Regions from separate parts of the Homo sapiens genome. Here all the other regions are linked to region 5. Evidence: promoter capture Hi-C in 16 types of primary human blood cells and fetal thymus (Javierre and others, 2016). All regions are on one chromosome and are shown on one strand. Each heading gives the region's core, a stretch centred on a gene start or on the middle of the fragment in contact. The rest is flanking DNA. Distances are from core to core; before and after follow the strand shown.

Evidence for each region. Contacts are between HindIII fragments. The CHiCAGO score rates a contact against its expected background, and 5 or more counts as called.
Region 1: a contact is called between a fragment that was not itself captured here and the fragment with the promoter of ARHGAP24 in region 5, in 1 of 17 cell types (naive B cells). The highest score is 5.4, in naive B cells.
Region 2: a contact is called between a fragment that was not itself captured here and the fragment with the promoter of ARHGAP24 in region 5, in 6 of 17 cell types (total B cells, naive B cells, M1 macrophages and 3 more). The highest score is 25.2, in total B cells.
Region 3: a fragment that was not itself captured here is called in contact with the fragment with the promoter of ARHGAP24 in region 5 in 2 of 17 cell types (total B cells and naive B cells); the score reaches 6.7 in total B cells.
Region 4: a fragment that was not itself captured here is called in contact with the fragment with the promoter of ARHGAP24 in region 5 in 2 of 17 cell types (total B cells and naive B cells); the score reaches 9.5 in total B cells.
Region 6: a contact is called between a fragment that was not itself captured here and the fragment with the promoter of ARHGAP24 in region 5, in 5 of 17 cell types (total B cells, naive B cells, M2 macrophages and 2 more). The highest score is 23.3, in total B cells.
Region 7: a contact is called between a fragment that was not itself captured here and the fragment with the promoter of ARHGAP24 in region 5, in 7 of 17 cell types (total B cells, naive B cells, M2 macrophages and 4 more). The highest score is 21.0, in total B cells.

What each region holds. Positions count from the first base shown.
Region 1 is chr4:85,268,029-85,271,314 of GRCh38, forward strand. No RefSeq gene overlaps it. Among named protein-coding and RNA genes, the nearest start is that of ARHGAP24, 210 kb to the right of the region's middle. The HindIII fragment of the contact is 3,414 bases long and covers 253-3,286 here.
Region 2 is chr4:85,675,374-85,678,684 of GRCh38, forward strand. All of the region lies in intron 2 of ARHGAP24 (Rho GTPase activating protein 24), which reads left to right. Among named protein-coding and RNA genes, the nearest start is that of MIR4451, 45 kb to the right of the region's middle. The HindIII fragment of the contact is 2,319 bases long and covers 893-3,211 here.
Region 3 is chr4:85,242,172-85,245,623 of GRCh38, forward strand. No RefSeq gene overlaps it. Among named protein-coding and RNA genes, the nearest start is that of ARHGAP24, 230 kb to the right of the region's middle. The HindIII fragment of the contact is 1,553 bases long and covers 1,279-2,831 here.
Region 4 is chr4:85,224,976-85,228,350 of GRCh38, forward strand. No RefSeq gene overlaps it. Among named protein-coding and RNA genes, the nearest start is that of ARHGAP24, 250 kb to the right of the region's middle. The HindIII fragment of the contact is 706 bases long and covers 1,653-2,358 here.
Region 5 is chr4:85,473,703-85,476,876 of GRCh38, forward strand. ARHGAP24 (Rho GTPase activating protein 24) reads left to right here and starts at 1,448. Exons shown (of 10, transcript NM_001025616.3): 1 at 1,448-1,857. The HindIII fragment of the contact is 5,990 bases long and covers 738-3,174 here.
Region 6 is chr4:85,694,076-85,697,720 of GRCh38, forward strand. All of the region lies in intron 2 of ARHGAP24 (Rho GTPase activating protein 24), which reads left to right. Among named protein-coding and RNA genes, the nearest start is that of MIR4451, 27 kb to the right of the region's middle. The HindIII fragment of the contact is 2,334 bases long and covers 534-2,867 here.
Region 7 is chr4:85,723,916-85,727,149 of GRCh38, forward strand. All of the region lies in intron 3 of ARHGAP24 (Rho GTPase activating protein 24), which reads left to right. LOC124900728 (a long non-coding RNA gene) reads left to right here. Exons shown (of 2, transcript XR_007058169.1): 2 at 1-729. Among named protein-coding and RNA genes, the nearest start is that of MIR4451, 3.1 kb to the left of the region's middle. The HindIII fragment of the contact is 966 bases long and covers 1,033-1,998 here.

The sequences.
Region 1 (3,286 bases), core at 710-3,209, 210 kb before region 5:
TCAATTGTTATCATTACTGGTACATAAAAAAAGTAAATGGATAAAGTCAATAAACTAAGAGTGATGGTTAATTTTTTGTGTTGACTAGGCCATGAGATGTCCAAATACTTGGTCAAACATTATTCTGGGTGTTTCTGTGAGGGTGTCGCTGGATGACATTAACATGTATATCTGTAGGCTGAGGAAAGCAGGTTGCTCTCCCTAATGTATCTAGGCATTATCCAATCAGTTAAAAGCCTAAATAGAACAAAAAGCTTGACCCTCCTCTGAGTAAAAGAGAATTCCTTCTGCCTCATTGCTTTTGACTGGGACATTATCTTTTTTCTGCTTTGGACTCACACTGAAACACTGGCTAGTACTGGGTCTTGAGGCTATTGGCCTTAGACTGGAGCTATGCCGTCAGCGCTTGTGAGCCCCCAGCTTACCAACCCTGCACATCTTGGGACTTGTCAGCCGTCATAATTGCATCAGCCAGTTCCTTACAATAAATATATTTATGTATACAGCCGATTGGCTCTCTTTCTCTGGGAAACCCTGCTTAATACAGCAAGGAATTTAGTTATAAACATATCCTTTAGAATTATGGTGATATCAGCAGAAGATGTAAAAACCAAGGTAACTTCTAAAGAATGAGACTCAGAAAAAAGGATTTGGGTGAAAAGACTAGATTTTTTTGCTATTATAATATATTTTGTTATATACATGTATTAGATTATAAAAATAATAAAATACAAACCTAAAGAAATATATCTTTTAAATTATGAATTATATTTTATTCCTAGGTTTCTTGAAATATTTTCTTTCAAAGTCTTAATAACTATATCACATATATTGTGAAAGTGAGAAAAACTTACAATTCAAAGTAGTCAACTTGAATTTATAAGGCATGTCATAATTAGATCTTCTAACAAGCCTGGACAAGTAAGCATCTTTAAAGGTGTTAATTGCTCATTTCTCACAAGCAAATTGACTATTCTGCAGTTGGAGACTGAGTTTGATTAAGTTACCTCTGTTATTACATTACGTTGTATGAAAGTGCTATAAAGCAATGACTATATAGGGCTGGAAGGTGGCAAGATAGTTGAACCTAAGGCAATACGCTTTCAGACTGTTTTCGCTGTGTCATTAAGTGCTATGCATCATATTTAGCATGGTACTATGACAGATTTGAATAGAAAGGTCAGTGTTAAACTATCTGGAAAAATATGAGTTAGCAATATGTGAGTAAGCATCAGGCTAGGTGCATCAGTGGAAACTGAAAACTGATAACAATGAGCAGTGGACTGTTGACATACATATTTCTGATGTGATACATCTGTAATCAAGTCCAGAATGATTGTTTGACCTCCCAGAGATCATGGAAAAGCTGGGAGAACTAAATACCTTGTGAATCTAGAAGTCTTAGAGCAATGGATTGCTGTTACTACCTGCATCAAGCCATAATATCTAGTGGACAGACACAGTTATACAAATTGCAAATAATGTCAGGACTTCTCACTCACTTTAGGCACTCATAAACCACACAATGGATTTCAGTATAAACAAACAAATGAACAAAACCCCAAGGGAATCTCAGTGCCATTCCAGCCTTAGGAAATTGAATTTATAAGTCACATATATGATTAGATTCTCTAACAAGCCTGAGCAAGAAAATTCCTCTGAAACAGTTAACTGTTAATTCTTCCAAAGTAAATTGACTATTCTGCAGTTGGAGACTGATTTTGAATAAATTACTTCTCCTATTAAATCACATTGAATGCAAATGCTATAAAGTGATGTTTATATGGGACTGGGAAAGGTGTGAAAATTGCTGGAACAGTGAGAGAATACCTGTTAGAAATGTTCCACGTAGACCCCAGTACTTGCTGCTTAGGAACATGCCAAGTTACATATGAAAGATACTTTGTATGACCTTAGCTTGTATGCCAGACTCTGCCTGCCCTAAGCTGGCATCATCTCATCTTTCATCTCTCATGCATATAATCCGTTTAGGACAAAGCAGACACCATCCAGTTTTCTTGCCTCCAGCCACCATTCTATCAGCCATAATCCCAGAGAGTCAAGGGTTAGCAAACCCCAGGGGTGTTCAAAAACATTTTCTAGACATTATTGAATCCCTTATAGCAAAAGGCTATGAGATTTAGGGTAAAAAGATTATTACATGATAAACAGTTTAACTCAACAAGAAGATTTAACTATCATAAATATATGTGCACCTAACATTGTAGTACTCAGATTCATAAAACAAATACTTCTAGGCCTACAAACAAACTTAGACAGCCAGACTAGACAATAATAGTGGGAGTCTTCAACACCCCATTTACAGTGTGAGACAGATTATTGAGACAGAAAACTGACAATTCTGAACTTAAATTCAAAATATTGGAACTAATAGACATCTACAGAATACTCCATCAACCATAGAATATACATTCTTATCTGCATATGGAACATACTCTAAGATCAACCACATGCTTGGCCACAAAGTAATCTCAATAAATTTAAAAATTGAAATCATACCAATCATATTCTTGGACCACAGTAGAACAAAAATAGAAATCAATGCCAAGAAGATCTCTCAAATCAATACAAGTACATGGAAATTAACTTACTCCTGAATGACTTTTGGGTAAACAATGAAATTAAGGCAGAAATAAAAAATCTTTGAAATAAATGAAAAAGAGACACAACATATCAAAATCTCTATGATGCAGGAAAAGGAGTGTTAGAAGGAAAGTTTATATTGCTAAATGCCTATCTCAAAAAGTTAGAAAGATCTCAAATTAATGTTCTAACACCACACCTACAGGCACTAAAAAAATAAGAACAAACAAATCCCAAAGCTAGCAGAAGAAAATAAATAACAAAAATCACAGCAGGGCTGAAAGAAATTGAGACCTGAAAATCCATACAAAGAATTAATGAAACCAAATTTTGTTCTTGGAAAGGATGGACAAGATTGATGGACCACTAGCTAGATTAACAACAACAAAAAAAAGATCCAAATAAACACAACCAGAAACAAGAAAAATTACATTACAACTGATCCTACAGAAATAAAATAGATCTTCAGAGACTATAATGAACACCACTGTGCACATAAACTAGAAAATCTAGAGAAAATAAATTCCTAGAAACACACAACCTTTCAAGATCGAATCAGGAAGAAATTGAGACCCTGAACTGACTAATATTGAGTTCCTAAATTGAATCAGTCATGAAAAACCTACCAACCAAAAAAAGTCCTGGATCAGATGCATTAAAGCCAAATTCTACCAGACATACA
Region 2 (3,311 bases), core at 802-3,301, 200 kb after region 5:
GAGATTCAGCATGTATTCTGCAGCTGTGGGAAGTGGCATTAGCAGGCCAGAATGAAAATAAATCTAACAGAAGGGCAGAATGGTTAATGTGCCTGAAACCCTGGATACTGCAGTGGCCAAAAGAACCTGGAAGGGTCTGTGAGACACTGGATTGCGGGGTAACAATTTATGGATAACCTTCTAACAAAAGATTTCCCGTAACATTTAAAGTTGGTGAGATCCGCCTTCCCAAGATGGTGGGCATTGCCAGTAGAAAGTCCCAGCTCCTGGAAAAGTGATTACATTGAGCCTATGGAGTCATTCCAACCATGTAAGGGCTTGGCGGTGACTGAAGTGTGCGCTTTGCTTTGCTTGACATTATGTTGAGCTTCAGTTGGCTTGTAGCTCATCTCATTTGACAAAGCAAAGCTGCCTTATTGTTTGAACATTCCTCTGATGTTTATGTGCTCCTATCCACTCAAAGTCATCAGGCAGGATGGTTAGAGCCAATGCTGTTCATATGTAATTATGTTTGCTTTGAAATGCATATCTGACTCCTGCCCTGGACCTCAGCAACTGAAGTGACATCCTGTATACAGTCCCTATTTTATGACACTGTCTCCCACTGTGAGGTAAAAGTTTCCTGGAAGATAACAAAATCAAAATGGAGAAGAAATGAAAACAGTTTCCTAAGTTATAAATAATTGATAATGATGATAAAATTGATGGTAAGTTTTCATTGCATAATTTGATTGATATGGCAGTTATCATAGCAGCCTTGAACAGAATGCTCTTGTGAACAAGATAATTCATCTCACTGAGTCTGTTTCGGCACAAATATTTTAAAATGAAAGGCATAATAAATCTGTACATAGAATACACACACTGGGCTGCCAAACCTGCCACCTGTTTAAGCTTTTAATGAGCAGTCCTGCTTGCAACAAAAAGCCATATCAAATTAATGCTGACATTTTTCTTTGCTGCTGCTGTGCATATTCCAGGGACTCAGAGAGATCATTTTGCAAAATCCTCTAAATGGGGCAAACTCTGATTTTTTTCATTATAATTTAACAACTGTTAAGCAAGCTCCCCCGGAAACTGTATTTACATCTGCAGCTCAGTTGGGGCTTGGGGTCTGGGTTTAGGGGTGGAGTTGGTAGTGTTGGGTAAGTGGAGGGTCTGAACTCTAACCAAGTGGGAAAAGAACACTGAACAAGGAGTTAGGAAACTTAAATGTTTGTCTTGTTTCTCCTATTGTTACCAATGGTCCTTTTGGCTCCCAAGGACCTATTGTAGGTATTCACAGTGCACATTTTAGGTCTGGAGTTGGGAAGAGCAAGGAAAAGGGTTATGAAAAGATCAGTATAGTGTCTGAGGGGGCCAAGCAGTACCCATTCATCTTTTCAAAGACTTGCAGAGACACGGAGAGCAATGTTAGCTCATTCCCTAAATATACTGCACTTTAATTCTGTCAAAAGAAGTAGTTGTTTTGAAGTACAATAGCATGGTAAGGAAAGGATTCCCATATTTCCTATTCCAGTGTCATTAAAAGAAACAGGTGAGAGCAGGACTTGAGAAGTGGCAGCACATGAAACAAGCAAGCAGAGCCACTGCCTTCCTGAGGCTACCAGAAGGGAGGCTCCAGCCACACAGGGTGGAAGAACCCAACGGGGGCAGAGCAGAGCACTCACACTGGGGGAAAACGATTTCGTACAGGCTTTTATACAACAAGAAGCATTCCTCTTGAGCAACGTGGATATCCTCTGAATCAAGTAGCTTTGATTAAATAAAGGTCATTAGCAACAGACACACATGCAAGCCATTGCTTTTCCTTTTGCTTTGCTCTTCTCTCTTTATCCTCCTCACAACATCTTAATGAGCTTTTAATCCTCCATTTATATGTTATGTTTATGTACAGAAATTTATCTTGTAGTCCTGACCTTGGCAGGCAACCCACATTTTATATGCACATTCAGGGGTGGGAAGGATTCAAGTTTGCTACCCAACCTAGTTAGGCACACAGCCGGTACCTCCCTGCTGTCCCTTAGAGTGACAGCCAGGGAACAATGAGCTTAATTAACCTATTTCACATTCAGAATATATTTCCAGATAGCCTTTGGACCTGGCAGACCACCAAGGATGTACTCATTTCTGCTGCTGCTGCTGTTAATGATGAAGTGAGTTTTTAACCATGAACAGTTATGAGTCCTCTGATAACATTTCAGTGGTAAAATTCCTTTGAGCTTTTCATTTATTTTAATAGTGATTCTGTAAAAGGAATAAAGTCCAGGTTTGCTGGCCAAAAGCAAGTGATGTCATGTGTACACCTAGTCTGTTTAGGTCAGAGATACACTTAACATCAAATGTCAGAAAAATGAGCACAAGCCAACTGTTTGTTGGTATTATGTATTAACTTTCCATTTTGTAGGCTCTTGTTTCTCACTAATTTTAATGTGCTAATTAATTTACTAGTTTATCAAGTTTTTAAAGAGCTGTTTCAGCCTGAAAAACATAGCAAGACCCTATCTCTATAGAGAATTAGCCAGACATGGGGCCGTGTGCCCGTAGTCCCAGTTATTGGGAAAACTGAGGCAAGAGCATCACTTGAGTCCAGGAGTTCGAGGATGTAGTGAACTGTGATTGTACTACTGTGCTCCAGCCTGGGCCAAAGAGTGAGGCTCCATCAAAGAAAAAAAAAAGAAAAAGGAAAAAAATTTTAAAAAAAGGCTATTCCTGGCCTGCCATGGTAACTCATGCCTGAATTCCAACACTTTGGGAAGCTAATGCAGGAGGATCACGTTAGGCCAGGAATTCAGGACTACTCTGGGCACCATAGTGAGACCCCATCTCTACAAAAAGTAAAAAAATTAGCATGGCATAGTGGTGACCTGCCTGTAGTCCCAGCTACTCAGGAGACTGAGACAGGAGGATCGTTTGAGCCCAGGAGTTTGAGGCTGCACTGAGCTATGATTGCACCACTGTACTCCAGCCTGGGTGACAAAGCAAGACTCTGTCTCTAAAACAAACAAACAAGCAAAAGGGCTATTTTCTTTGAAAAGTAGTATCAAAGTTCAACACAATCAAGAATTTTCGGTTCAATGCCCAAATTTGTTTTCATTTATAGTACTTTCAAAAAGAATTTAAAGGAATCACATAATGAAAGACACAAGCAAAACATTAAAACAAGAGCCAAATAATAAAGTCATTTGGAGAAATATGATTAATACCAGGAAGCTTCTGATTGTTCAGACTGTAATTCTAGGCAGTCAGGTTGAAAAAATGATCTGTAAAGTCAGCATCAATGTATCAGACTACAAACAGTGCAAAATAAA
Region 3 (3,452 bases), core at 805-3,304, 230 kb before region 5:
ATTTCCTTCCTTTTAAAAGCAGAATAATATTCCATTGTGTGTGTGTGTGTCTGTCTATCTATATATCATATTTTGCTTATCCATCATCTGTTAATGGACACTTTGGGGTTGCTTTTACATTTTAGGTATTGTGAATACTGCTATGAACATGGTCAAGACTCTACTTTTAATTCTCTAGGATATATACATAGAAGTGGAATTGCTGTATCATATGGTAATTCTGTTTTTAATTTTTTGAGGGACCACCATATTGTTTTCCATACTGTTTTTCCATGGCTGTACCATTTTACACACAATGATTCCAATTTCTGCACATCCTCGCCAGCACTTGTTATTTTCTATCTTTTTGATAGTAGTTATGCTAACGGGTATGAGGTGATTACCTCATTGTGGTTTTGATTTGCATTTCCTAAATGATTAGTAATGTTGAACACCTTTTCAAGGACTTGTTGGCTATTCATGTATCTTCTTTGAATAAATGCCTATTTAACTCCTTTGCCTATTTGTAAATTGTTTTTATGTTGAGTTTTAGGAATTCTTTATATACTCTGGAGACCAACCCTTCATCGGGTATGATTTGCAAGTATTTTCTCTCATTCTGTGGGTTCTCTTTTTACTCTTTTGATAATAAATTTTGATGCATAAATTTAAAACATTTTGAATGAAGTTTATCTAGTTTTGTTTCTTTTGTTGCCTGTGTCTTTTTTGTTATATCTAAGAAATATTTGCAGAATCCAGTGTTGTGAAGCTTTTGCCCTTTGTTTTTTTCCTAAGAGTTTTATTGTTTTAAGTCTTGCATTTAGGTGTTTAATCCATTTGGGGTTAATTTTTGTGCATGGTGTTTGGTAAGAGTTCAACTTATACTCTTCCGTATTAAAAGAGTATACTTCCAATCTCATATATTTTTGTCATTCTTGTTTTTCAATGGACACGAGAAGCTATCTTCTTGGTAAAGCAAAAATATAAATTTATGAGTTTAGCTCAAATAGCCCATTCTTTCTGCCTTTCCCCAGCTCCTTTTACTTTACATATCTATCCTCAGCTCTCAACCAACCCTCTGTTACTTGGCTTGTAGATCCCACTTATGATTATTATTTATGTCCTTAAAGATGTGCAATCTGCTTGCAATTTTTACTTTCTTATAAGTGGGAATTTTTATAATCTTTACAAATGGAGTCACATTGGGCATAATCTAAATCCCTTCCAAATATTGTGTAGATCTAGCTACTGACTTTATGTTTTATGTTTTTTGGTTGTGGTTGCTAATATTTATAAATAAGCTTGTAAAAATTACTAGTTATTTCTCTTAGCAAAATTACAAGAAGGAATCATTAGCTATATACTGCTAAAATAGATTGTCTTAATAAGAAATATCCAAGAAAGGAGCTAATTAAAGTAATAATCATGTCTTTGGACAAGACAGTTGAGAGAAGATATAGAGGAGGTGGAAATGGTTCAGTGCTAGAAAAAGCTCAAGGCTAGTAACTAGAAAGTGGCACTTACTTTTGCTCCTAAATTTAATCCCATCAGATACTCTCCTGTGCAGAACTGTCCAGTAAACTGTCAGCCACGAACTGCATACCTTCTCTCTCACTGTGTTGTGTTTACCTTTTTTTATGATTAGCAGGTGGAATGTTCAATTAACTGTAGAGCTAATATTACAGAAAACAATTGTCCAAAAAGTAGAGGACTCCCTTGAGTTCTAATAAGAAAGCAAAGATAAATAGCCAGGCTGCACATACATCCCAAGTTCTTTGGAATTGGGTTTATTAACAGAAACTGAAATATACAGAAGCAGTACCAACAGTGTGTACCTCTGTTCTTCTTACACTTTAGGGCAACACAGAGATCTAGCAGCACCAGACATCCACTTCCATTAGAGGGAGCCTGGTTGTGTGGTTAGGAAGTTGCCTGCTTGGGGAAAATCAGATCCTGTGCTGGCTTAATCAAGGGCACAGTAAAGGATCAAGAAGAGGTAGATCTTTGGCCCTGGTCCTGTTTCGCCACCTCAGCACCAGGTTAGGGGAGTACCAGCCATTCCATAGGCCTGGTCAGGGGTGGCAGCTCCTGTGCATTGATGATTCATTGGTCTGATCCACCACCTCAGAATTCTATTGGGATTGATTGTCTTTAGCACTCAGTTCCAGTTATTTCTTTGTTGCTCTACAGTTTTCTCTCTGAGCAGCTAACCTGTAAAATCAGACTATATATATATATACACATATAGCTGTTTTATATATATATATCAGCAAATTTTTGGAGGGGGACAAATTAACTCTTCTCTTTATGACCCCTCTTACAATTTCTGTAAGTACTCAAGCAACTGTACAGCGGGGACTGACAGAAAAGAATTCTTGGGACATCACAGTCCTTTCCATGGGGTACTGAAGGTCATAGTGGGACTGCTTTACAAGACAAGAGAGACTTGATTTTCAAGGAAATTTCAAGCTGGTTTAAAGGATGCTTCTTTTTTTATTTTTTGTATTATAATCATGCTGCTATAAAGACACATGTGCACATATGTTTATTGCGGCACTACTCACAATAGCAAAGGATGCTTCTTTAATAAAGTATTTGCATTTTTCACTTTGTAGCAGTAGCTCTTCAAGAGCCCCAGCTCTTAGCAAACCCATTTGCCAAGCACTTTAAAGTTTACATAGCTAAAATTAATAGGTGCTTACTAAGCTCTAGGCACACAATGGGGGCACTGCCATTATGTTTATTTTACAGATAAGAAATGAAGTCTCTGAAAAATTAGCTTACTCAAGGTAATATTGCTAATAAAGTGGTTGAACTGCAGTTCAAGTCCTAGTAGATATACATGGACCTCAAGCTTGCTAAAACCATAGCTTGTGAAAATACAAAACCTTGCACCTAGAATTATGCTAATTTTCAGGAGTCTTACATTGCAATGGCTTTTTAGCTCCTTCTGAATTCTTATGTTTTCATATGTTGACCCAGATATGAAATTCACATCTCTTTAGTTTTACTCCATATCGTCCATAGAAAGCATTGATTTATTGAGGGCTGCACGGTGGAGTCTGAGGAGAAGTATACAATACTGTGAAACAGATGACTTAATTCTCGACATAGGTGCTACCCATTTGAAAATATCTGCCCTTTGCATTGCCACTGCAAAGAACTTCTACCCATCTCAGCCTTTCTTGCCTTATTGGCTTCTCCTTTCTTCCTTCCTTTTTCTCCTTTCTGTAACTTCCTTTAAGGACCAGGCAAGAAAGCAAGAAAAACAACAAAACGACTTACCTTCTTTTTATATTTTTTAAACCGAGCAACTTTTCCTTCTCTGACGCTTTAGTGTCAGTCAAAGCCAAGGCCCTCAATATCTCACCTTCTATCTCAAGTACTTATAAGCATATTCACCCCCTTCCTTTCTTCCTCAAAAAGCTGTCATACGACGAGATGAATTCAAACATTCTTATGTGCATGATCAG
Region 4 (3,375 bases), core at 756-3,255, 250 kb before region 5:
TTGTGGTTTTGATTTGCCTTTCTCTAATAATTAGTGATATTGAGCATTTTTTCATGTTTATTGCTCACTTATATGTCTTCTTTTGAGAGGTAAAGTCTTTTCACATACTTGATCCATTTTTAATGGGATTACTTTTTTTTCTTGTTGATTTGTTTAAGATCTTTATTGATTTTGGATATGAGACCTTTGTCAGATGTATAGTTTGTGAACATTTTCTCCCATTCTGTAAGTTATCTGTTTACTCTGTTGATAGTTTCTTTTGTTAGGCAGAAACTTTTTAGTTTAATTAGGTCCCACATATCAGTTTTTATTTTTGTTGCAATCGCTTTTGAGGAATTGGTCATAAATTCTTTCCCAAGTCCAATGTCTAGAATGGTGTTTGCTAGGTTTCTTTTAGGATTCATATAGTTTGACGTCTTTCATTTAAATCTTTAACCCATCTTGAGTTAATTTTTAAATCTTTAACCCATCTTGAGTTAATTTTTATGTACAGTAAAAGGCAGAGACCAGTTTCATTCTTCTGCATACAGCTGTCCAGTTATCCCAACAGCACTTATTAAATACTGAGTCCTTTTCTCTTTGTTTTTTGTTGACTTTCTTGAAGATCACATGGCTGGAGATGTGCGGCTTTATTTCTAGGTTCTCTGTCTTGCTCCACTGGTCTATGTGCCTACTTTTTCTTTTCTTCTTCTTCTTTTTTTTTTTTTTTTTACTTTTTTACCCATAACTTGCTGTTTTGATTACTGTAGGCTTATAGTATAGTTTGAAGTTGGCACTTATATATGAATTTCTTTTGGCAGTAAGACCATTTAAACAGTATTTATTCTTCCAATCCATGAGCATATAATGTTTGTTATTTGTTTGTGTCACCTCTGATTTCTTTCATCAACAGTTTTTCTCATAGAGATCTTCCACCTCCTTGTTGAGATGTAGTCCTAGGTATTTCATTTTACTTGTGGCAATTGTAAATTGGATTATTTTCTTGATTTACTCTCAGTCTGTACATTATTGATATATATATAAATGATACTGATTTTTGTACATTGATTTTGTATCCTGAAACTTTACTGTAGTCATTTATCAGTTCTAGGAGCCTTTCACAGAGTCTTTTGAGCCTTTCACAGAATCATACCATGAGCAAAGAGAAATAAATTTACTTCTTTTCCTATTTGGATGCCTTTTATTTTCCTCTCTTTCTTGATTGCTTTGGCTAGGACTTCCAGTACTATGTTGAATAGGAGTGGTGAGAGAGGGCATCCTTGTCTTGTTCCATCTCTCAAAGTGAATACTTCCAGCTTTTGTCTATTCAATCTGATGTTGACTATGGATTTGTCATAGATGTCCTGTTATTATTTTGAGGTATGCTACTTTGGTGTCTAGTTTGTTAAGAGGTTTTTTTTTATCATAAGGAGATGATGGATTTTATTGTATGCTTTTTCCATGTCTATTGGAATCATATGGTTTTTGCTTTTGATTCCATTTAGGTGGTGCATCACATTTACTGATTTGCATATGTTGAACCAGGCCTGTATCCCAGGAATACAGCATACTTGATTGTGGTGAATTAATTTTATTAATATATTCCTTGGTTTGATTTGCTAGTATTTTGTTGAGGATTTTCGCATCCATGTTCTTCAAGGATATTGATCTAAAGCTTTCTTTTTGCATTGTTCCTCTTCCAGGTTTTGGTATCAAGCTGATGTTGGCTTCATAGAATGGGTTAGGAAGAAGCCCATTCTCTTCAATATTTTGGAATAGTTTCAGTGGGATCGATATCAGATTTTCTTTGTACATCTGGTAGAATTTGGCTATGAATCCATATGGTCTAGGGATTTTCTTTTTGGTTGTTAGGATTTTTATTACTGATTCAACTTCAGAACTCCATATTTGTCTATTCAGAGTTTCAATCTCTTCCTGATTCGATCTTGGGAGAATGTGTGTTTCAAGGAATTTATCAATTTGCTCTAGATTTTCTAATTTGTGTGCATACTTCTTTATAGTAGTGTCTGGGAATCTTTTTTTTTTTCCTATAGGATCAGCTGTAATGCCATCTTTGTCATTTCTGCTCGTACTTCTATCTTCTCTTCCTTTTTCTATGTTAATCTAGCTAGCACTCTACCGATCTTGTTCATTCTTCTGAAAAAAAAAAAAAAAAACCTCTTTCATCTTTTGAATGGATTTTTGCATCTCAATTTCACTCAGTTTTTCTCTAATTTCAATTATTTTTTTCTTCTGCTAGCTTTGTGTTGGTTTATTTTTGTTTTTCTACTTCCTTTAGGTGCTAAGTTAGATTGCTAATTTGAGACCTTTATAATTTCTTAATGAAGGTGTTTCTTTAATCTCAAGTGAGATTGGAGAAGCTTTTGTGGACTATATCATCAAATATATTTTTCAAATTGCTTTTTCTCTCTTCTCACTCAGAATGCCAATGAGTCATAGATTTAGTCTCTTAACATAATCCCATATCTCTTGGATATTTTGTTTATTTTTTAAAATTATTTTTTCTTAATTTTTGTTTGACTGAGTTGATTGAAAGACCTGGTCTTCAAGCTCTGAGATTCTTTCCTCAGCTTGGTCTATTCTACTGTTAATACTTCAGATTGTATTATGGAATTCTTATAAAGGATTTTTCAGCACTAGGAGTTTGGTTTGCTTCTTTCTCAACATGGCTATTTGATCTTTCAACTCTTGGATCGTGTTAGTGGATTCCTTGGATTTTGTTTCAACTTTTTCTTGTATCTTAATGAGCTTCTTTGTCTTTAAGATTATGAACTCTATCTGTCATTTGAGACTGGTTGAGAACCTGTATTAGTCCATTTTTATGCTGCTGATAAAAACATACCTGAGACTGGGTAATTTATAAAGAAAAAGAGGTTTAACGGACTCACAGTTACACGTGGTTTGGGATGCCCTCACAATCATGATAGAAAGCAAGAAACACATCTCACATGGTGGCAGACAAGAGAGAATAAGAACAAGGGAAAGTGTTTTCCCTCACAAAACCATCAGATCTCATGAAGCTTATTCAGTACCATGAGAACAGTATGGGGGAAACCACCCCCATGATTCAATTATCTCCCCCCAGTCTCTCCCACAACATGTGGGAATTATGGGAGCTACAATTCAAGATGAGATTTGGGTGGGGACACAGCCAAACCATATCAGAACCATTGCTGGGAGCTAGTGGTATTGCTATTGCTTGGAGAAGGGGACAGTCTCGATTTTTGAATTGCCAGAGTTCTTGTGCTGATTCTTTCTCATCTGGGAGGGTTGGTGTTCCTTTAACTGTGGTGTAAGTTAAAGGAATGTCAACTTCACTGTAGTGAAGTCAGTTGGATTTTTAAAAATCTTTTTAGAGGGTCAAGGCTCTGTGCA
Region 5 (3,174 bases), core at 198-2,697:
GTAATTTATTCCCACCAATTGGAAAATAAGCTACATTACTTCTAGCTTAGGAATTCCATACATATTTTTAAAATGAAATATGAAACGCAATTTTTTCCCCACACAAATTAATTTGATTCATTAAAGGGCTGAGAATTCTCCCACCAGAAAATCAAGTTTATAGTAGGACCTCAGCATGGGATGGGGTAGATTCGTTTCTCCAAGAACTTGGAGAAAGAGGACAAAAAGGAAAAACATATCAGTGTCCACTCAGCCTTTTATTTTTGGTGTTTCTAAAACTAAACATTTGCTCTTCTTCCATATCCCTCTCTCACTGGAGATCCCTAGTGAGGACACCCCCATTCTGTGTCTTAAGGATATCTGGTGATGATTTCTAAAAGAGAGTTTCTTTTATTAGTAGTAGCAGTAGTAATTGTTCGAGACGGGGGTGTCACTCCGTCACCTAGGCTGGAGTGCGCTGGCACAATTATAGCTCACTGCAGCCTTGACCTCCTGGGCTCAAGGGATTTTCCCGCTTCAGCCTCCTGAGTAGCTGGGACTACAGACATACGCCGCCACGCCCAACTTTTTTTTTATTTTTTTAATTTTTTTTTTATAGAGACAGGAGTCTCATTATGTTGCCAATTTTGGTCTGAAACCCCTGGGCTCAAGCGATCCTCCTGCCTCAGCCTTCCAAAGTGCTAGGATTGCATGACTGATCCACTGTAAGTGGGTTTCTAAAACAGAGATCTTTACAAAGCTTTTTGAAATAATTTGACTCAGCATGCCAGGTAACCAGAACTGTAAGATCACAATTTGAAACAGACATTGTGGTGATGGTGGGAAGAGACGGCCTGCATCAAAACAATGTTTACTAGTTTGTCCTTTTGTCCCATATTGTGTAACTCCGAGAGTTCTTACACCACCGTAAGAAAGTAATTATACTTTGAATTTCTCTAAGGCTCTAGTTAGAGAGCATCCATCTAAATGTGCATTTCCAGGAATATTGCTTTAATGGCCCAGGTAATTCTAATTGGAGAAATAAAATGTTAGCGAGACAGAGTTGGTAGAAGCAAGTAAAACCGGTGTATGGGGTTTGGCCAATGAAATGCAGAGCTCCTTGAGGGCAGGAGACATGTATTCACCAACCTTCTCGCGCCCACAGCCCCAGATCTGTGGCCAACAAGTATCTATGATGCACTTGAAAGGAACGAGCGATGCCAGATGCGGAGGAACCAGGCAGGGCGCATTCTGTCAGTGGCGCCAGGCGGTGTAGCTCCAGCTCTCAGATAACCCAGGCTTTGGGAGGGCGGGGCTCCTGCCGGCCTCCCCTGTAGTGCGGCTCGAGTCCTGTGAAGCTACCAGTTGCCAAATGAAATCTGAAACCTCGAGCTGTGTCTGAGGGTTGGCCCCACTCAGTTGTTCCAGCCTCTTGTACTGTATATTTACACATTCACACACAATCACCCTTTCTAACTTCTGGGACTCTTTGCGCAACTGCTAGGATTTCTCAAGTGCATGTGGCAACACAGCCCAGCTCCGGGTGGAAACCAGCAGGGCTCTGGAGGGGCTCGGAGACCAGGGGAGCTGTCAAGGCTGCGGCGGGGACCAGAGAGGAGCCTGGCGGGGGTGGCTGGGTGGCTGGGGGAATCCCCCCAACTTCCCATCGCAGGCGCAGCTCTCTCGGCCGCCTATTTCCTCCGAAACCCGCGCTGCGGAGCAGCCCAGTGCATAGAGTTCAACACTTCCCCTTGTTGTGGAAAGTAAAGGAGCCTCACTACCACCTTTTTTTCTTTGCGTTTTCTTACTGCTGGTCCTGGGAGCCTTTTCCTTCGGAGCAGCAGCCCTGTCCGGCATCTGTCTTGAGCTCCCAGCAAGGTAGGTGATGCGGTCGCGAGGAAGTGCGCGGAGCTACCGCGGGAAGGACGGACGCGGCTGCCTGCGCCAGGGGAGGGGGCTGCGGGGGGCGGGGAGGGGGCTGCGGGGGGCGGGGAGGGGGCTGCGGGGGGCGGGGAGGGGGCTGCGGGGGGCGGGGAGGGGGCTGCGGGGGGCGGGGAGGGATCGCAGGAATCCCGTGCTGATGTAGCCTGTCTGTGTTTGTGTGTGTGTGTGCGCGCGCGCGCATGTTTGTGCCGGGAGACAGCAAGCTGGTAGTATGTCTTTCTGGCTTTAAAAATAGATGGAATTAATAAAAACCCTTTGTACAATTCAATTTCCTCTCTTGGTATCCATCCTCCCCTTCCCCTTGTTTGTTTCCTCTAGTATCTTATAGGAGTTCCCTATGTAACAGGCGCACAAAGATAGGTTTTAATAATAAGCATATATATTTGCAAAAATATATATTTTATATGTATAAAATATGTTTTAAAATATTTATAAATATATTACATATTAGAAATATATATTATAAAATATATACATATATTTGTAAACACAAAACGTTAGGGAATCTTTGGTGAATTTGAAGCCACTCAAAAGATTTTGTCCAAATGTTTTTAAAAATAACATTTAATGATAAACATGTAATATGGTCTCGTTTTTAGAAAATACTTAAGACTACATTTATTTTATACGTACCCAAATAGAAGGGAGACAATGTTACTCTGAATTCCTTAGATAGATTTTCAGCATCAACCAGTAATAGGGAGCCCAGACTTCTTTGTAGACTATATCTCGTTTAATTCATTTGAATTAAACAAGTAATTTCTCCAAGTAATTTCTGTTTCCAGCACATTTTATGTTACTCTTTTTTTAACCTTCCACGGCATCATTGTTTCATCTCTTTCTAAAAAGGAAATAAATAAATCGTGCTGAGTATTTGGAATATAAAAGTTGTTAAGGCTTTGCTTATACATAAATACATAAATAAAACAATATGTGTTGCTATGTCTACTAAGTAAGACAAATTCATTGGAATCCAGGGATATTTGCAGTAGAGTTTAAGAGCTTTACTCAGTTACTGAGTAGAAGATGTACAGACGGATTAAATACAAACAATCTGTCCCCAGTTCCAATTAGAACTCAAAACCAATCCTTCAGGGCAAAAATGGATGACGCTATTGAACTGGGCATTGTAAAATAAAACACACAGAATGTATGTATTAGAAAAAGCCAGAAAACAGCCATAAAGTCACATCAGACTTGTGAAGATCTCACTCCCCCTTTTAAATTTCTTAATTCTTCCTCTTTTCTGGG
Region 6 (3,645 bases), core at 451-2,950, 220 kb after region 5:
CTACCTCTTCAGCTTCAGTGTCTGCATTGCATCTCCGTCTACTCCTAGCATTTTCGTTATGAAAATCTATTCAAATTATGTTGTTTACTCAAAATTTTGGTCTTTCTTGGTGGGAGCAGCACTTTCTTGTGCATCTAGTCAGCCATCTTGTCCCTTCTCTTCAGCTCTTCTTTAATTTCAGAGAAACTACGGGATTGTTCAAGTGGGAAAGAACCACTGGTGTTAAGGCAGGAGAAACTTGTAAATCAGCTAGGTGGTGCCGGAAGAACACGGGATTTGGAATCAGTCTGCCACTGGCATATATCAAAAATTCACTCATCAGCCAAACGTAAGCTCTAGTGGAGTAGGACCTTTATCTGTCCTATTCACCACGGTATACCAAGCATCTAGAGCAGCACAATCACTTTTTGAATGAATGGATAAAACCTTTAGTATTGTTATTAACAAGTATTAATAGTACTAGTAGCATTAATTTTTATAATCTCTAAATGACTAGAAAATGTTTCTATTGTTTGCAAACATGGAGAAAAAAAAGCTTCTCATCCTTGAAGACACTGTCCCTGACTTTCCCTCGGCCCCTCCACCCTCTGTGTGTGTGTGTGTATATGTGTTTTACATAACAGATATATACATGTATACATATATTTATTGATACATAACTGTGTTTTCTCAGGTTAAGTTTCAGGCTACAAAGAGTATGTTGGGCAAGTATATGAAAATATTAAAGAGTTTCCTTTCCTAATTATATCAATGGATCTTCATCTTGATATTGCTTTTTAGCTATGACGCTCTTGTCTTAAATAAAACTCCTCAAATAACAAGTCAGACCCACATGCCATACCTGAGTTATCAATTTCACACAAGATATTAATGGTAATAATTAAATGCAAGTGCAACTGTTAGCTCAATTACGACAACAACAATTAAAGTGGAGGTAAAATGTTATGCATAACACTCCAAGGTGTATTTTAGGCAAAATCTTCAGATTTTTTGTTTGGGATTTTAGTAGAAGAATTCAAATACCCAGACTTCATCTCAACTGGAAGATCTTAATGTTGTATATGCGTATTTTAGCTTATCTATTCTGAATTATTTCTGTGAAAAGTAAAGCAAAATAATGTTTTGGTTCCTGCATTTAGCCATCTCTACATAAAAAATTAAGTGATGCTGACACACAACTATGTAAGTTCTCTGCTACTTTCTAAAGACCATGGTTCATATTCTCCTAGATCATGGCATGTGCCCAATAAAGACAGGGTTTGCCTTCACCTAACATGTTTGCCTGTTACATGGGTATGGGGAAGGTTTAGCTAACTCCTGGTTCATTTATCTCAGTGAAAGAGATTAAAAATAAAAATATATTCCATCATAATAAGAATGCTCAATCATATCATAGATGGAAAAAAATCAAATTATTGTGGGAGGTCTCTTTGTAAACTAGCAACCTTCTATTTTGAGCTGGCAACCCCATTGTCATAGCAAATGTGATTATCAATGAAGGATTTGTACTCAATTTGATTGTCACTGACCCTGAAATATTGAAATTAATATGTTAAAAGTCTGAAGCTAAATAACTCACACCTAAGTCACTTGATGAGTTATAATAGCAGGAAGTCAAATAAATTAGAGATGAATGTTTTCAAATTAACTAATATGAGTTAATATTCATTAGAGTAAATTAATTTAATTTCCTCTTAGTTGAATTTGAATAACAGCAAATTAATTAGTGTAATATACTATGCAGTGTTTGTTACTTCCTATCTCAAATCCACAGTACATATGGTACCCAATAGCAAATACAATTCCATAGAGGACATGTACTGATATAGTATAACTTGAATTTATTTTCCTGAAGGAAATATATTGACAATGTTACAAATAATTTAAGGCAGCCAGAGGTATGAGCAGATTCCTTTCATCTATGTTTAGCCATACACAGATAAATGAGAATATAGTATTTTGTAGATAGACCAACTTTTTCATTATTTTAATCTCTCAGAATATATGAACTAGATTGGGAGTGCTGGGTCTCATTTAGGATCCAACAGCTTTTATTTTTATTAAAAGTGAGTTCTAAAATGCCCTATTTTTAAATTCCTAAAATTAAATTACATATTGAATGTATTTATTTCTTCCTGATTCATCATCAGCTTTTATTAGTGTTTTATTAGGATCCAACAGCTTTTATTTTTATTAAAAGTGAGTTCTAAAATGCCCTATTTTTAAATTCCTAAAAGTAAATACATATTGAATGTATTTATTTCTTCCTGCTTCATCATCAACTTTTATTAGTGTCTAACATTCAGATTGGTAACTTGAATAATGGGAAGAAAAGATATTTACACAATATTTTTACCATCAGAATAAGGAAAAGGTAGATGTTTATTCAGGAAATATACAATCCTATCTAGAATTCAATAAGCAGAATGATTTACCTGAGTCATTTCAGATTCATGAATTGTTTCCTTCCTTTTGTTAGCGTATTTCCATTTTCATTTTTAATGCCTGTAATGCTTTTGTATTATTTTAAGATAAGTTGAATGCCCTGTTATACATCTTAAGTTTTACATCAAATGGCAATTTAGTTTGCTGAAGTTGTCTCACAGACATAACATTCTTTCAACCTAACTCACAACTGGATTGTGCTTATTGTGAATAAAAGTACCCAACAAATCATGTTCATAGCTAAATCTGGGGCAGCACTTTCAACTGAGTAGAGGGAGAAGATGCCAGAGTTCCTTGCTGACTTATATGAAAGGACACCATGCAGAAATGGTGAGATAAAGGGAACATTGATCAACTTGTTGAGGATGGCCCTGTCTTGTCAGTGGAAAAAAGAGGCATTGAAAGGGATGAGTAATGACAGAAGCTTTTTTCCTAGTAGGATGCATATGGAGTGATAGTGGGATATAATCGTGAGCAATAATATCGGAGGATAATGAATGTGCCACAGTTGAAACTATAAGAAAAATCCCCTTTTAGTTTTAGAAAATCACTGGACCAACGATCAGCTAGTGAGGAAAGGGTCTCATGGTTTTGTGTTGTTTTCCATTAGTCAACTGGCATGCATTTATGCTGTCAGCAAAATTATTTATATTATTATTTATAGAGAGAATTACTTTGTCCTTAGCACTGGACTACATTCTAAAGAAGTTATGAAGAATAATGTAATGCTGTTTTGATACTCAAGGAGCTTAACTATCTAGTTGTGCACAGATAATGTGTCTGCATAGTTTGCTGAGAATGATGGTTTCCAGTTTCATCCATGTCCCCACAAAGGACATGAACTCATCATTTTTTATGGCTGCATAGTATTCCATGGTGTATATGTGCCACATTTTCTTAATCCAGCCTATCGTTGTTGGACATATGTAACAAACCTGCACGTTGTGCACATGTACCCTAAAACTTAAAGTATAATAATAATAAATTTTAAAAAAATATGTCTGCATAAAACCAGTGAACATACTTACAATAACATACTGCTGGCAGTAAGCTCAGCTGTGTAGCAGATAGTGAATAGGATAATATAGTTCTATTAATATGTTCTAGAAGACAGGTTAACATACTAAATGAAATGGAAGTCAATTGGGCTGTTTCTGAGGAAAAAAGTGAAGAAGGTAGAGGCTGAACTTTTAGGAATCA
Region 7 (3,234 bases), core at 266-2,765, 250 kb after region 5:
TTGGGGTTATTTAGGGATAACATAACAATTACTTTATCTTTGCAAATGGGAATGACAAGATAATATTTTTCAATTTTTTCAATGGTGTAATTGTTTAACATGATAATTTGGGATGTTACAACAGAGTGTTTTTATTTGTCAGAATGCATAGGAGGCAGCAAGGATTGCAGAAATGTGGTTGGTAATGTGTATAGAACCCTCGGCAGGCCGTGGGCCTACCTGGCAGCAGATCCTCATAAAGCATATTTATTCTAGATTGGCTTTCTCTATAAAATTCTTTCAATTGCCACTTCTGAAAATCTATCATAAAGATGATGCTTACAAACCCAACAAGTGTCTATCTTTACGGATAGCTAACTCAAGCCTAACTCTCCAGAGTTTATGAGTGAGTAGGAGAGGATTACATATTTTAATTTCATCTGCCCATAATGATTTCCAACAAAACTAACAAAAGCCTCTAGCAAGCTCTTTGCCATATATTTTAGCACTATATGCATACGTACACATTTGTGTGTGTGTTACGAATACAGTTTATCCATATGTGCACTGTATGTCCTTATAATTTTTCCATGTGTGTATATATATATATATATATATATATATATATATATATAGGAATTTTTATTTTGTTTTATTTTTGCTTTTGCTTTATGCTGAAATATCCCATGAAACCAAGGAAAATCATATTAAAAAAACAAGAATTTTCAATAAAATTGAGCGTCTCAGGTCTTTGTGTATTACTTATTTATATTTGTTTACAAATTATATTTGTATGCATATTTTAGGCTTTTGTAAAAACCTATCTGAAAATAAATCTACCATGTTTTAGGGTTGATTTCCTATAGATTCATTATCCTATGAAATGAATTATCTCTCTGAATAATGCCATGAGTTATAGATTTTTCGCTCCAAATTTTTCCTATTTCTCTACTTGTTATTCAAAGGGATATCAGCCAAATTGGCAAATTTGAAGTCTTCTCTTTCAGACATGCCAAATTTTAGACTGAAGTGAACTATTATGGCCAAAGTCCAAGCTTTTGGGAAATGTGGTTGAGAAAGAAAGATTGGCAAATCTTTAATGAACAGTTCTTGAAGAAAGAACATGCAGTTGGTTTCTGCTTCTCTAAATGTGTTCTAGTTGAATTTTCCTTGAAATGTTTTAAAAAAATAAAGAGTAGTTATTGGAATAATGATGCCTTAGCTTTCTTAGGAAAGAAGTTTCTCAGAGAAAAAAATAAAATGACAAAGAAACAGACAAGAAATAGGCAAAACAAGACAAAGGAGGACTATATGTATCTCCATATATTTAGAAACCACATCTTTCTTGCTTTTTACTGTATACCTAACACCTGGAAATAGCACAGTATAACATATGGTGCTAAACAAATATTTCTTGAAGTGCATATATTTACCAGGCTTATGGAAGAATCTCAGTCATATGAAACTGCCCCCACTCTGCTATGTTGAACTATTTCCTGTTGCATAGGACCTTTTCTCCCCTGTTCCCGCAAAGACCTCTTTGTCACTCTAGTGGCAAAAGTGAAGAGAAACTCCTTACATGTTTCCTTTCCTACTTTTCTGCCTTCCTTTCTGATGATGAGACCAAGAGACGGATGGAAGAAGGTAGAGATCTTCCTACACAGATGATACTGCTGGGGCATAGCCCCTTCACACTGACTGGTCGTTACAGACTTTCCTCTCTAAAGGCTGAATCTTTCACAGATGCATTTGTGGATTTTTCAGGGTCTCTGGAATTAGAAATCCACTTCACATGCTAGTATTCTCCCAGCATTGGGATAGTCCTGTTGGATGGGATACAGCGAAAGGCCTCAAAGGCCAGCTGCTTGCTTTGTGTTTATTCAGCAACTAGGAAACTCATGTACCCTGGCCTGCAACGTAAGGGAAATGCAGGCTGTTCCACTGTTGCTGCCTCCTTTGGCTTGTCACTTTCTCCAGGGGTTATCAGCTTCAGTGCCCAGCAAGGTCAGTGGCTTGCCAAGCTTCAGAGGCCATCATGAGTCCCTGACTTAGAGAAGGAGTGAGTCACTGTTCTAACACACATCAAAATTTACCAGCAATACTCTTGTTCTGATAGTTGGGAGAATTCCTAGTCCTCCCCCTCAAAAACCAGTGCTGATTTTGAAAACTGCTTCCTCCAAGTAGCACTTCCTCTTTTCTAGTTTCCCCCTCAAAACAGTCAGGGCCATTTGGGTTCTCAGAAGTGCAATGCTTTCTCTCAGTAAACCTGGCAGAGAAGTGGCTAGGTGCAATTTCCATCGGTCTTTTCAGCTTAGAATGTGGAGTTTTAGCCTCTTTTGGGGGGTGGGGGGTGGACCTTAGCTGCAGTTCCTGGATAATGGGGATAAAACGTTTTATTTACATCTATCTATAATCTTAGATTGGATTCCAGGAAACACGCTGATGGAGAATGACATTAGATTGTCATGGGAAAGGTTCTCCGAAGATATTTTTTCTGCAAGAAAGTGAGGAAAGCAGGATGCGACAGGAACACCTGCCCTGCAACGCTGTAGCAACTGAAGTCTTAGCTGATCCAGTGGGGTCCCCTGAGGCGGTGATCCCTCTCAAGTTTGCTTCAAACTGAGGGGCTGGGGCTTTGTTTCCTCTTGCTAACTAGTCATTGATTGGGAGCAGGAAGACAGATAAACTTGGGTGAAGCTGTTCCTGCTGCGTTGTAGAACAATTCCCATGAGAATCTCTTTGTGCCTTCAGCAACCAATATACCAGTCTTTGGGATCTAGAGAGAGTACTACAGTATCCGTTATAATGTCTGTAGCCTTATCAGTATCTAGACATCTGTATTCCAGGCAATGTTCCAGGCTGTTTGCACGTATCGCTTTATTTAATCCTTACTACAACTCTATGAGGCAAGCAATGTCATTATCTTTATTCTGCAAACGACAGATCTGAGGCACAGAGAAGTAATTTGATCCAGGTTAAAAAGCTAACACTGGGCCAGGCGCTGTGGCTCACGCCTGTAATCCCAAAATTTTGGGAGGCCGAGGTAGGGGTATCACCTGAGGTGATCCTGAGGTTGGGGCTTGGATCCAAGGTGGGGGGATCCTGAGGTTGGGACTTGGAGACCAGCCTGACCAACATGGAGAAACCCCGTTTCAATAGAATATTAAAACACAAAATTAGCTGGGCGTGTTGGTGGGCGCCTATAATCCCAGCTACTCAGGAGGCTGAGGCAGGAGAATCCCTTGAACCCAGGAG